Regions from separate parts of the Homo sapiens genome. Here region 1 is linked to region 2. Evidence: promoter capture Hi-C in 16 types of primary human blood cells and fetal thymus (Javierre and others, 2016). All regions are on one chromosome and are shown on one strand. The core of a region is centred on a gene start or on the middle of the fragment in contact, and the rest is flanking DNA. Distances in the headings are between cores, read along the strand shown. Region 1 holds the start of MINDY1 (MINDY lysine 48 deubiquitinase 1). Region 2 holds the start of MRPS21 (mitochondrial ribosomal protein S21).

Region 1 (6,820 bases), core at 1,892-4,391, 710 kb before region 2:
CGTCTTCAGGCTGGAGTGCAGTGGCAGGATCTTGGCTCACTGCAACCTCCACCTCCCGGGTTCAAGCGATTCTCCTGCCTCAGCCTCCCGAGTAGCTGGGACTACAGGCATGTGCCACCATGCCCTGCTAATTTTTGTATTTTTAGTAGAGATGGGGTTTCACTATGTTGGCCAGGTTGGTCTTGATCTCTTGACCTTGTGATCCGCCCGCCTTGGCTTCCCAAAGTGCTGGGATTACAGGCGTCAGCCATCGCGCCCAGAGCCTGGGGCTTCTACCACACCCTCTGCACTCTACCAGGTGCACAACCCAACCAGTTTCATTTCTAGACTTAAAAATGATACAGCAAGGACTTGGAAAGGAGCTCTCTGGAGGGCTCCAGAGGGAAAAGAGCTGGGTTTGTTTGTTTGTTTTTAACATTAATTGAGTAATACATGCAAATATCGTGCTCTTTGCTCCTGCTTCTGTGGATCCAGAGCAAAGGACTGCCATACCCAGAGAGAGAGCCCAGATCCAACAAGCTGCTTCTGTCCAGCCCTTCTCCTCCCTACTTAGCAAGGGCACTTGCTCTTCCCTATTCTCACCAGAGAGGCACAAGCGCTCCGTCCCTTCTAGAGGCAGGCAGAGGGAAGAGAAAGGGTCTGTTGTTTTTCTCTCCTGTTTCTCGCTCCCTCTCTGCTGATCACAAAGCTGCTGACCGGGTCAGAAAGTCCTGATGGAAATCCACCAGCGCTGGGCAGGCCCCTCCTCCTCCAGGGAGCTTGTCCTTGCCTAATTTTTCTTCGTCCTGATGAGAACAAAAAAGAGAGAGAGAAGAAAAGAAAAACCACAAACTTCCTTTGAAAACCAGCTTGTAGTCAGGGCCCGGAGCGCATGCCATAGACTCGGCGACTCAGGAATCCTGAAGACTCTCTGAGCGACCTGGAGCACCTTGGCTGTGTCCCTGCCTGCCTTCACCCTCCTCCAGTGCCCCCAGTACTGGGCGTGAGTCCGGAAGTGGCCACAACCCAGCCTGGACCGTCGCTTATAAAGCTGTGTAAACCTGTATAAGCTCAGGCGTTGACAGCTGGAAGGCAGCTGGCACTGGCAGCCCCCTTCATTGCACCTATCTCCCCCATCTCATTGCCACGGCTGAACCCTCCTTCTCAATCTTGGAACAGCACCCCCTTCTTTAAGGTAAAAACTTTATTTTAATCATCTTCTTCACCTCTTCTCCCACCCTTCTCTATTTCCTCTCCAGCTTTGGGGAGCTGACACCTGCTGTCCTTCCACCTTTGGTCTGCAAGTCTGGATTGCTTAGAGGAGCTAAGTCAGGAGAGACATGTAAAGGGGATGCTGCTTGGTCCTCCTCCTTTTAATGAAAGCACGAAACCTTCCCCCTCTCCTTGTGAGCAAGTATACAGGGCACTGTGGCCATGGTTGACATATTCTGAGATGAAAATCTAAACTATTGATTGCACAAAGACATAGGTCAGACTAAGAAGGAGATTGGTGTGAGACAGTAAGGGAACTGTTCCTACAGAGAAGGAGTGTCTTCTTGAAGCTACATACCTGTTTTACGTGCTTCTTCCAACTTTCGGCTCTCTACTGCCATTGATTAGGGAGGAGCCAGGATTATTTTAACTCCCTCACTCACCACCATAATTCCAGCTGGAGAGAAAGTGTAGGATTTGACGAGCTAAGAAAGAGGAGGAAAAGAATGAAACTTTGATTTATCTGACTATCCTCTCCCTCATTCTTTCCTACTCTGAAATACTCCATGCCCTCCCCAGCAGGATTGGACGTTGTAGAGTAGAAAGCCTCCATTACATTTCCTGCCCCTGCCTCTTAAGACTTAGCCCATTTAGCTCTGCCCAGTTCCTCTGAGACCCCACTCCCTCAGGTGTCCACTCCTGGGTTCCTTTGGCTCACCTCTCCAGCCAGCTAGCTGCCCAACCCCCACTTCATCATTGATCATTTCTGGCACTGGAGAGAAAATATAAAAAATAAGGCCTGCTTTTCTTTTTTTTTTTTCTTTTTTTCTTTTTTTTTTTGGAGGCAAGAGTCTCACTCTTGTCACCCAGGCTGGAGTGCAGAGGCACAATCTTGGCTTACTGCAACCTCCACCTCCGGGGTTCAAGCAATTCTCCTGCCTCAGCCTCCTGAGTAGCTGGGATTACAGGTGCCCGCCACCGTGCCCGGCTAATTTTTGTATTTTTAGTAGAGATGGGGTTTCGCCATGTTAGCCAGGCCGATCTTGAGCTCCTGACCTCAGGTGATCCGCCCGCCTCGGCCTCTCAAAGTGCTGGGATACAGGTGTGAGGCACTGTGCCCGGCCAAGGCCTGCTTTTCTTCAAGCTTTTTCACTTTTCCAGGCTCTGGCATCTGCTTTGAGGTTCACCCTAAGTGTCATTTAAGGGGAGAAGGAAAGGAGAGAGAGAAAGAGAGAGAAAAAAAAGCATAAGGCCTGCAGGCAATTTTTGCTACTCTGATTCTAAATTAACAACACGTAAATGATATGCAGCTAGCATAAACATATGTGAATCAAGAGGATAATCAATTTGAGTGACTAGGCTTATTTTGTTTCAGTAACTTTAATGTTCCTCAACCTCATCTCCCAGGCCTTCCCCTAGCCCCAAATTCCTGTAGGTTTACAAGAAGGAAGCAGTCTCAGGCTGGGAGGAGGGTGGAGAAAAGACAAGATTTCTAACTAGTTTAATTTATTTTATTTTATTTTATTTTATTTTATTTTATTTTATTTTATTTTATTTTATTTTTGAGATGGAGTTTCGCTCTGTCACCCAGGCTGTAGTGCAGTGTCACCATCTCAGCTCACTGCAACCCCCTGCCTCCCAGGTTCAAGCAATTCTCCCACCTCAGCCTCCCGAGCAGCTGTGACTACAGGCACGTGCCAACACACCTGGCTAATTTTTGTACTTTCAATACAGACAGCGTTTTGCCATGTTAGCCAGGATGGTCTCGATCTCCTGACCTCAAGTAATCTGCCCGCCTCAGCCTCTCAAAGTGCTGGGATTACAGGCGTGAGCCACCGCGCCTGGCCCCTAACTAGTTTAATTTCTCCCTGTTTCTCTCCCTGATAAAGAGTGGGAGGGGAGCAAGGAGATTGAAGGGAGATGTTTTCCAAAGGGCAGGATTTGTGGTTTTTTATTATTTATACCCACAGTATTAGTTAAATGTCTATCTGTGCTTGCCTCAATGTGCCTCCAGTGCTGATAGAGAACAGGTTAAACAGGTCCGGTGTTCACATCTAAAATGACCTGGAGAGGACTGGGCACGGTGGCTCATGCCTGTAATCCCAGCACTTTGGGAGGCCAAGGTGGGAGGATCACCTGAGGTCGGAAGTTCAAGACCAGCCTGACCAACATGGAGAAACTCCATCTCTACTAAAAAATACAAAATTAGCTGGGCATGGTGTTGCATGCCTGTAATCCCAGCTACTCGGGAGGCTGAGGCAGGAGAATCACTTGAACCCAGGAGGCAGAGGTTGCAGTGAGCCGAGGTCGCACCATTGCACTCCAACCTAGGCAACAAGAGCAAAACTCTGTCTCAAAAAAATAAAAATAAATAAATAAAACCACTTGGATGGGAATAGACATAAAACTTTAGGTAGGTGAATGTACAGGAAGTATTGTTATGTAAATTAATAATCAGCATTTTCATATTTCATAGAAATAGCAGGCAAGAGAGTACCTCTGGGTTTAGGTAGTTTCTGGGGAAAAAAAATGAACTGAGGAAAAGTTGCTGTCTCAATGCTAGCTGTCAAGAGATGCTTACTGGGTCCAGGCACCGTGGCTCATGCCTGTAATCCCAGTCCTTTGGCAGGCTGAGGAGGGCGGATTGCTTGGGCCCCCAGGAGTTAAGACCAGCCTAGGCAACAAAGCAAGACCCTGTCTCAGTTTAATTAAAAGAAATTTGATATCTTTATTAATTTTTTTTAAAGAGAAGCTTACTGGAAGAACTTGTGGGGAGTGCTTTTTGTGCCCCTAATCTGAAGTTATTTATCAAAACCAGTCTCTGATTCCAGCCCCCACCACCTACATTTCCCCTCCCAGCTTACAGGAAACCCCTCCCAAGGCCTTTATACTGTGGTTTGGGATTGTGTAAGGTTCAGTAGAGCCCTTTGAGGTGGAAGACTTCCCCTTCCTCACCAGCATTTCACCTTTAGGGGCATGAAACTGACTCTCTGTGCCTCCTCCATTCTTCACCCCAAGTACTATGTGACTTAATCTTTTTATCCTTGGGTGAGGCAGAGAGAAGGTATCCCTAAACATACAAGCACTGTGTATTCTTAGTATGTTGTGTGAAGGGGCAGGGTGTGGGGTAGGGCAGAGGAATTATCTCTGTCATGGCTATGAGGGGGTTACTGATGTGATGCCTATTAGAGTAAGCTAAAGATCATCATATTAATAACCATTAGCGTAGATTTAACATTTCTTTCTCCACCTCTTATCCTTCTTTCTCCTTTGTGCTCTCCCTTTCTCTCTGTCTTTCCTCCCTTCCCTGTCATGATCTGTTTCAGGGAAGCTGACTCCACCCATGTGTTCAATCCCACCAGTCTTCCCTCCCAAGTCTGGAAGCCCCACGACCTCTTGGTCTCATCTGGTCACAGCAAGTTAGAGGTGGAAAGAGCTCAGCACGGGGCCCTTCTGTTTACACATATACTGCCCATAGCCAGGAGTTACTGCACAAACACTAGCCAGCCTTCTACACTACATTCCTTTTCCAAGACTTTTCTGGGTTAGTTTGCTTTCCAGCCCACTGATTTCCTTCTTATTGGACAGGTCACTCTTTTGCATCCCAAGCCTGGCTTAGGCAAGTCCCTGAGGTTAGTAAACACCTTCAGTGCCCCTCAGCCAAGTCCCTTTTGACCATGGAATACCATCAGCCTGAGGATCCAGCCCCTGGTAAGGCCGGGACTGCAGAAGCAGTCATCCCTGAAAACCATGAGGTTCTGGCAGGCCCAGATGAGCACCCTCAGGACACAGATGCAAGAGATGCTGATGGGGAGGCTAGAGAACGGGAGCCAGCAGACCAAGCTTTGCTGCCTAGCCAGTGTGGGGACAACCTTGAGTCCCCTCTGCCTGAAGCTAGCTCAGCTCCACCGGGGCCAACCCTTGGGACACTGCCTGAAGTAGAGACAATAAGGGCATGCTCCATGCCCCAGGAGCTTCCTCAGTCCCCCAGGACCCGACAGCCTGAGCCAGATTTCTACTGTGTCAAGTGGATCCCTTGGAAAGGAGAACAGACACCCATCATCACCCAGAGCACTAACGGCCCTTGCCCTCTCCTTGCCATCATGAACATCCTCTTTCTTCAGTGGAAGGTAAGAGAACATGCAGTTAGGGGTGCAAAAAATATCAGGGAGTACTCTTCCCTGACTTACTTCCTTGATCATCCTGATGTCCTCAAACTAGTCAAAACTTTTCAGATTGTTCTCCCTATTTCTCCAGCTTGAGCAAATGAGATAAGATGTTCCTAAAAACAAAGAAAAAAAAAAAAGAGGAAGATCTGTCCTACCCCTGTATCTCCTACTCCCTAGCAAATGCACATGCCTTGCAAGATTTCACATTCATTCCCTTGTGCCAGTTGCAAGCCTTTTTTCCTACCCCACCCTACTACTGGAGCTCCCCCTTGCCTTTCCATGGGTTCTTCCTTCAGTGCTCTTTGGAGGAAAGCACACACGTGATCACCCCTTCTGCCTCCAGGTGAAGCTCCCCCCGCAGAAGGAAGTGATCACATCGGATGAGCTCATGGCCCATCTTGGTGAGTGACTGGGCGTTGAAGAGGAATTACCCAAGGGGCTCCAGAGCTATCCACTCAGCCAGAAATCCAGACTATTCAGGGATCTCCATTTGGGGGTTCTGATACAGCAGGGAGGGTAAGGGTCTATGGGGCTTCTCTGCAAGGCTGGAGAATGAAAAGCAAAGGCGTCGGGAGTCCTGGGTTGTAACACCAATTCTGCCCTTAGCTTTTGTATCTGACCCTGGGTGGGCCGTTCACCTTTATGAGGCTGTCGCCTCCTCTGAGAAATGAAGAGTCTGGATTAGACTCTAAGTATTTTCCAGCTCTGAAAATCTGTGTTCTGTGACATTACCCGCATTCTCCAGGAGAAGAGGAAACTTAGCTTTTGGGATGATTGGTGGGGTAAGCTGATAAGGGGCCCTGTCTTGTAGGAAACTGCCTCCTGTCCATCAAGCCCCAGGAGAAGTCAGAGGGACTTCAGCTTAATTTTCAGCAGGTGAGGCAAAAGGTCTGCAGGCATAGGGGTTTGCAGGTTTGTAAGGGGACATCTTGTAATACTAAGATAAGCTTTTGTTGCTTCTTCAGAGGTTTCCTTGAACCATGATTTCATTCTGCAGGAGTCAGAGGAGAGTTTATCTTTGTCCTAGAAAATATGTTCATTGGCCGGGTGCTCACACCTGTAATCCCAGCACTTTGAGATGCCAAAGCGGGAGGATCACTTGAGGCCAGGAGTTCGAGGCCAGCCTGGGCAACATAATAATACCCCTGTCTCTAAAAAAAACCATTTTTTTTTTCAAGAATTAGCCAGGTATGGCGGTGCGTGCCTGTAGTCCCAGCTACTCAGGAGGCTGAGGTGGGAGGGTCACTTGAAACCAAGAGTTTGAGGCTGCAGTGAGCTAGGATCACACCACTGCACTCCAGCCTGGATGAAAGAATTAGACTTAGACTCTCAAAGAAAAACAATGTTCATTTATATAAGATAGAGAAGGGTTGAGGCAAGGGAGAAATGGAGTGGCTTGTAAGAGAATCAGGGAAGAAGAGCAGCAAGGTTAATTTTTAATTTCTGCAGGTGGGAGTGGA
Region 2 (7,263 bases), core at 4,673-7,172:
AAAAAGAGAACCATAAAAGTAGTATGTGGGCTGGGTGTGGTGGCTCACACCTGTAATCCCAGCACTTTGGGAGACAGAGGCGGGTGGATCACCTGAGGTCAGGAGTTCGAGACCAGCCTGGCCAACATGGTGAAACCCCGTCTCTACTAAAAATACCAAAACTAGCCAGGCGTGGTGGCAAGTGCCTGTAATCCCAGCTACACGGGGGGCTGAGGCAGGAGAATCACTTGAACCTGGGAGGCGGAGGTTGCAGTGAGCCGAGATCATGCCACTGCACTCCAGCTTGGGGGACAAGAGCGAGACATCGTCTCAAACAAACAAACAAACAAACAAACAAAAAACAGAAAAAAAAACAGGAAAAGCAAAAACTGAGTGTTGATTAAATTAAAAATATAGTGGCTGGACAAGGATTTTTAAAAGAGGCAGATAAAAAGGGGTATAGACAATCTTAGACAAAGAAATAAGAGTCTTCTCTCAAAAGATAAGAGCTGGCCTTATATTTTCTGCAAACCTGGTATCAGTGAAGAGGATCAGGAAGGAGATTAGAAATATTTTGTTTCTCAGATTCTGTTTCAAATTTTAGGTGTAAATGGGGATGCATTCCATATATGATATGGGGCATCACTGCAGTCTCTGCCTCCCAGGTTCAAGCGGCTCTTCTGCCTCAGCCTACGGAGTAGCTGGGATTACAGACCTGTGCCACCATGCATGGCTAATTTTTGTATTTTTAGTAAAGACGGGGTTTCGCCATGTTGGCCAGGCTAGTCTCGAACTCCTGGCCTCAAGTGATCCACCATTCTTAGCCTCCCAAATTGCTGAGAATACAAGACTGAGGCACTGCACCCAGCCGCTACTCTCTTGATACAACTGTAAGAAGTGGTTCAGCTGGGCATGGTGGCTCACGCCTGTAATCCCAGCACTTTGGGAGGCTGAGGTGGGCAGATCACGAGGTCAGGAGATCGAGACCATTCTGGCTAACATGGTGAAACCCCGTCTCTACTAAAAATACAAAAAATTAGCCGGGGTAGTGGCATGCGCCTGTAGTCCCAGCTACTCGGGAGGCTGAGGCAGGAGAATCGCTTGAACTCGGGAGGCGGAGGTCACAGTGAGCAGAGATTGCGCCACTGCGCTCCAGCCTGGGCGACAGAGGGAGACTCCGTCTCAAAAAAAAAGTGGTTCAATAAATAATACTGTACCACAAATTTTGTTGTTTTTTGTCAAAGTAGCTAATTTTCTAAAAACAAAATTCTTGCTTTTGTGTTATCTATACTTTAGGAATAAGGGAACTAAAACTGAGCCTGTTGGAAATTTGTTTTACCATTAAGCAACAGCTATCCTTTGATCTTTCAATAACAAACATCTCAACAACCATGGCCAGAAGACCTATCTAAATCTACCAAAATAAATCATACAGAAGAAGATTTACAGGGAGAAGTCAGAAAAAAAGAGTGAAGTTACACGTAATACATGCCTTTTCCCAAATTCAACATTCATCTCCCTAGCTAACTCACTGCAGGGTCTGGATGTTACCTATAAAGACGTTCATTTTAGGCCAGGTGCAGTGGCTCAAGCCTGTAATCCCAGCACTTTGGGAGGCCAAGGCGGGTGGATCATGTGAGGTTGGGAGTTAGAGACCAGCCTGACTAACCTGGAGAAACCCCATCTCTAGTAAAAATACAAAATTAGCTGGGCTTGGTGGCGCATGCCTGTAATCCCAGCTACTCAGGAGGCTGAGGCAGGAGAAACGCTTGAACATGGGCGGCAGAGGTTGCGGTGAGCCGAGATGGCACCATTGCACTCCAGCTTGGGCAATAAGAGTGAAACTCTGTCTCAAAAAAAAAAAAGTTCATTTTGTACTTCCAAGATAGCAAAGTAGGGCCAGAGAAAGGTCATTAGACATAATATACTTCTCAGACATGCCACCAGAAGGTATGAAATAGGAGAGTTAGAAATGAGGAGAAACAGAGAAAAATGAAACAGGATACCTTACAACCTGGTACTTATCTTTACTCTCAGCATAGGTGACAATGTAGAGGGAACAGCTTCAGCCCAAGGATATAATTGTTATGCACATAGAATTAAGTGATGTGGCTGACCCCAGACCAGATTTTTTTTTTTGAGTCTTACTCTGTGGCCCAGACTGGAATGCAGTGGCACGATTCTGGCTCACTGCAGCCTCTATTTCCCAGGTTCAAGTGATTCTCCTGCCTCAGCCTCCCAAGTAGCTGAGATTACAGGCGCCTGCCACCACATATGGCTAATTTTGTATTTTTAGTAGAGACAGGGTTTCGCTATGTTGGCCAGGCTGGTATTGAACTCCTGACCTCAGGTGATCCACCCGCCTGAACCTCCCAAAGTGCTGGGATTACAGGCATGAGCCACCACGCCTGACCCTAAGACCAGATCCTTTTAAAAGACATAGAAACCATTCTGAGCCTGCAACTGCTTCTCATTTACACAGCTTCTGACAGCATTTTTTCTTTTTTTTTTTGTAGACAGAGTCTCGCTCTGTTGCCCAGGCTGGAGTGTAGTGGCACGCTCTCGGCTCACTGCAACCTCCTCCTCCCGGGTTCAAGCGATTCTCCTGTCTCAGCCTCCTCAGTAGCTGGGACTACAGGTGTGTGCCACCACGCCCGGCTAATCTTTTGTATTTTTAGTAGAGACGGGGTTTCACCGTGTTAGCCAGGATGGTCTCGATGTCCTGACCTCGTGATCCGCCCGCCTTGGCCTCCCAAAGTGCTGGGATTACAGGCGTGAGCCACCGCGCCCGGCTGACAGCATTTTTTTCCTCACTGTGGTCTTCTGCCATCCAGCCTTCCACACCTAGAACTCTCTGCTTTGCTAAGAACTAGGTTCCCTTTCCTTTGCCCTCTCAGTCCTCAAGAACCCTACCAATATTTAAACCCAATCAGATGAGGATTCTGGTTTTTTTTTTAAAGCGACACCTGCTGAAATGACAAGACAAGGATTCTAAATTGGAAAATGAACCACCATAAGTCTTTCCATTTCTAGTAAGACTAGTAATAATTATTAAAGAACATTGCACTAAAAAGATGTGCTTTAGGCTCCTCTCCACCATTCAATAACTGCATAACCCAATAAAGATAATCTGATCTTCCAAGGCTTCCCTTACTTGTGAAATAAAGCTACCACATTAAAGGCCTTAATGCAGCCCATGCAATATCTTTCCTACATTTTTTTTAAGAGACATGGTCTCACTATGCTTCCTAGGTTAGAGTGGAGTGGTTATTCACAGGCACAACAAGAGTGCACTCACACTACAGTCTTGAACTCCTGGGTTCAAGCAATCCTCTTGCCTCAGCCTCTGGAGCAGCTAGCACTACAGGAGCCCCTTCCTTACAATTCTTTGATAATTCAACTCAACAAGCGTTTGTTTCTCCAAATGTTACTTCACATTGGGGAAAGAAAATGACGCGTGAGTCATACCAGAAAGTCAAAATCCACACAACTGGTGAGAAGGGAAGGTTAAGAACTTTTTGCTTGAGAATTCAGTGGTAAAGTACTACTAGGGCTGGGCCGGATGCAGTGGCTCATGCCTGTAATCCCAGCACTTTGGGAGGCCAAGGCGGGTGGATCACGAGGTCAAGAGATTGAGACCATCTTGGCTAACGTGGTGAAACCCTCTCTACTAAAAATACAAAAATCAGCCAGGCGTGGTGGTGGGCACCTGTAGTCCCAGCTACTCAGGAGACTGAGGCAGAAGAGTCAATTGAACCCAGGAGGCGGAGGCTGCAGTGAGCCGAGACTGCACCACTGCGCTCCAGCCTGGCAACAGAGCAAGACTCCGTTTTAAAAAAAAAAAAAAAAAAGTATTACTAGGGCTCTTCTACATCTCTTAGCCTGGCATTCAAAAATTTTCAATGAAGCTATAAAGCTCCTCCACCCCAGCTAGTTTGTTTCCATTTATGTATTTTTCCTTATGCTGTATCTTTCCTGAAAACTTGTAAGCTTTCCCATCTTTCTTTTTTTCCCTTTCTTCTTAATATTTTTAGAAATGGGGTCTTGCTATGTTTACCAGATTGGTCTTGAACTCTTGGCAACAAGCAATCCTCCCCACTAGGCTTCCCAAAGTGCTAGGATTACAGGTGTGAGTCATCCCACCCAGTGAGCTTTCCCATCTTTTGCCTGCTTCTCTAGGATGCCAATCTGAATTCACCTTTTCCTTTAGCTTTGTCCCACACCAATCACTCCCTCAGCTTTCTATTTATCATACTACGTTCCCGCTTCCTAGCAACTTCACATCTTGATTTTCCATTTGGGCTCTTTTTTAAGTCTTCTAAAGAATTCAGGTTCCTCATAAAAGGAGTCATTACGCTTGGGCAACATGGCGAGACTCCCTCTGTACAGAAAATACAAAAATTAACTGCGGTGGTGGCGTGCGTCACTAGACCCAGCTAGTCAGGAGACTGAGGCAGGAGGATTGTTGAGTGACACAGCAAGACCCTGTCTCAATTTTTAAAAAGCGGGGCCGGGCGCTGTGGCTTACGCCTGTAATCCTAGCACTTTGGGAGGCAGAGGCAGGCAGATCACTTGAGGTCAGGAGATCAAGACCATCCTGGCCAACACGGTGAAACCCCATCTCTACTATAAATACAAAAATTAACCGGGCGTGGTGGCGGGAGCCTGTAGTACTGGCTGCTCAGGAGGCTGAGGCAGGAGAATGGCGTGAACCCAGGAAGCGGAGCTTGCAGTGAGCCGAGATCGTGCCGCTGCACTCCAGCCTGGGTGACAGAGCGAGACTCTGCCTCAAAAAAAAAAAAAAAAATTAAAATTAAAATTAAAAGCGGGGAGGTGCGGGGGGTGATTACTTGTTGAATACAATTCATACAGTTAGGTTTGAGGAAGAACTTTTTTTCTTTTTTTTTGAGATAGAGTCTCACTCTTGCCCAGGCTGGAGTGCAAGTGGCTCGATCTTGGCTCACTACAACCTCTGCCTCCCGGGTTCAAGCGATTCTCCTGCCTCAGCTCTCGAGTAGCTGAGATTACAGGCGTTTGCCACCACGCCCGGCTAATTTTTGTATTTTTAGTAGAGACACGGTTTCACCATGTTGGCCAGGCTGGTCTGAAACTCCTGACCGCATGTGATCCACCCGCCTCGGCCTCCCAAAGTGCTGGGATTACAGGCGTGAGCCACCGCGCCCGGCCCAGAACTTCATTTTTAAGATAATAAACTGAGGGGCTGAGACGTTTTAAGAGACTGTGAACACCTGGGCTGGCACTGTTTTGAGAACAATCAACGAAAGGGGAAGGGAGAGAATAACCACCGCACTTCCCAGAGAGTCTAGGCATGATTCTGGTCCCTTAACAGTTACCTGTTTAGGGTCCTGTATGCGCTTTCCACGTTCCCTTCCTGTACCATCACAGTCCTGGCGATGAACTTCAGATGTTTTGCCATGACCTTGGATTTAAACCTTCACTCTGTAGAGCCTAAAGGATGATGGAGAAAGGGCGAGGAAAGCAGAAAGAGAAACGCAACATAATACAAACTACACCGCGCGGCTTATTTAGGATTTGGAAATTCAACATGCTCAGGGACGCGCGAGATGGAGCACATGGAAGTCATCCTAGAAAGTAGACGTGAATCGTTGTCTCTTATTCTCACTGCCAGTCCAAATCCTCGCATAGAGAAGAAAAGAGATGGCAGCAGGGCGTTACCACAAAGACGCGTCGCCGGGCATGAGAAGGACACGAGCGACAAGGATGCGCCACAGGGTCCCAACCACCACACATAGTTCCAAAAGGGGTTGAGTTGGGAGTTGGGGAAGGACTCTTTGTTGGTCTTTGGAAAAGGGGGCGAAAGCCCGCAAACCTGCCCTCTCGCCAAGCCAGCCTTCCTTTCCCCAAACCCTGCACAACTCCTCACCTCGCGCGCTCAGTACCTAGCCCACCGGAAGGGTTCTCACTACCGGAAGCGGAAATTACGGAATCGCCAGCGCCGCGCAAAGAAACAGGCCGAGGGAGACAACGTGCGTGGAAACCATAGCAACGTCCTTTCTGGCCTCTGTTGACTGCCTCTCTTCCCCGGGCCTGGACTCTACACCTGACAAAGCAAAATACTCATTGACTTAAATTCCCCCGAAACACGTTTCTCGCCCTCTCATGGAGTCGAAGTCCTTCGGCCTCTGAGAAGGTCAGCCCAATTTCATACCCCTTAATCCTGTGAAATCCTTGATAAATATTTGAGCCATTTCTCTTTCTCGATGGAAAACAAGAGAAGTAGGCGCTTCCTGAGGATGCTTCCTGTTTTCTCTTTGGAAAGGACAGACTCTTTGAGATCTGCTCTCCGGACGAAAAATAGATTGATTCATACACGTCATCTGCCTAAGTGCTAAGGAAAAGAAATAAACATACTGTGAGTTTCCTATATCATCTTCCCACTAATTTAACTACATAAAGTGAAATCAATAAAGATATATGGGAAACACCTGCAGGGTTTAGAATAAAAAATTATGTCAGCTTCTATGCCTTTTCGTGCTAATGAGACCTACTGAAAAACCTCCTTTTAAATTTCTTCTTCGCTGTGGAGACACCCGTCCTCCTATTTGTATGCTACCTGTACATATCCATTTATGGTTATTCACGTAAGTTAACATCTAATGGCTGTAGGAAAACGTACCTCCCTTAGAGAGAGAGTGCGCGCGCACGCTCACGCACACACACACACACACAGACACAGACACAGACGTGTGCATCATCAGTTGATGCTAATAACTTACACTAACACTTAAGCCCACCTCAGAGTAAGCCAGGTCCAAAGTAACGAAATAGAACTAGATTGGGACATTATTATGCTTGTCAACAAACTTTCACTGAATGACTACTCTGTGTCAGATACTGTTGATACCACTCTAGTGCCTCCTGGACCACTAGGACCACATAAAAGATACTAAAACAAAGTAGTATATAATAAATGCAAAATAAATTATATGGGCTGGACGCGGTGGCTCACACCTGTAATCCCAGCACTTTGGGAGGCCAAGGCAGGCGGATCACTTGAGCCCAGAAGTTCGAGACCAGCCTGGGCAACAAAGCAAAACTCCGTCTTTACAAAAAATATAGAAATTAGCCGGGTGTAGTGGCATGGCCTGTTGTCCTAGCTACTTGGGAGGCTGAGGGGGAGGATCACCTGAGCCTGGAAGGTCAAGGCTGCAGCGAGCTTTGATCACACCACTGCACCCTGGCCTGGGCAATAGAGTGAGACCCTGTCTCAAAAAATTAAAAATGAATAAATAAATAAATAGG

Evidence for each region. The method cuts DNA at HindIII sites, captures the fragments that hold promoters and counts their contacts. A CHiCAGO score of 5 or more calls a contact.
Region 1: a contact is called between a fragment that was not itself captured here and the fragment with the promoter of MRPS21 in region 2, in 1 of 17 cell types (fetal thymus). The highest score is 6.2, in fetal thymus.

Annotation. Positions count from the first base shown.
Region 1 is chr1:151,000,666-151,007,485 of GRCh38, reverse strand. It overlaps MINDY1 (MINDY lysine 48 deubiquitinase 1), which reads left to right and starts at 584. Exons shown (of 10, transcript NM_001376665.1): 1 at 584-1,174; 2 at 4,780-5,321; 3 at 5,704-5,761; 4 at 6,172-6,236. The coding sequence starts at 4,869. RefSeq lists enhancers at 679-858, 1,089-1,348. The HindIII fragment of the contact is 1,608 bases long and covers 2,338-3,945 here.
Region 2 is chr1:150,292,520-150,299,782 of GRCh38, reverse strand. MRPS21 (mitochondrial ribosomal protein S21) reads right to left here and starts at 5,922. Exons shown (of 3, transcript NM_031901.6): 1 at 5,885-5,922; 2 at 5,334-5,448. The coding sequence starts at 5,416. LOC105371434 (a long non-coding RNA gene) reads left to right here and starts at 5,963. Exons shown (of 2, transcript XR_922129.4): 1 at 5,963-6,151; 2 at 6,286-6,483. RefSeq lists enhancers at 2,184-2,741, 5,575-5,634. The HindIII fragment of the contact is 15,404 bases long and covers 3,972-7,263 here.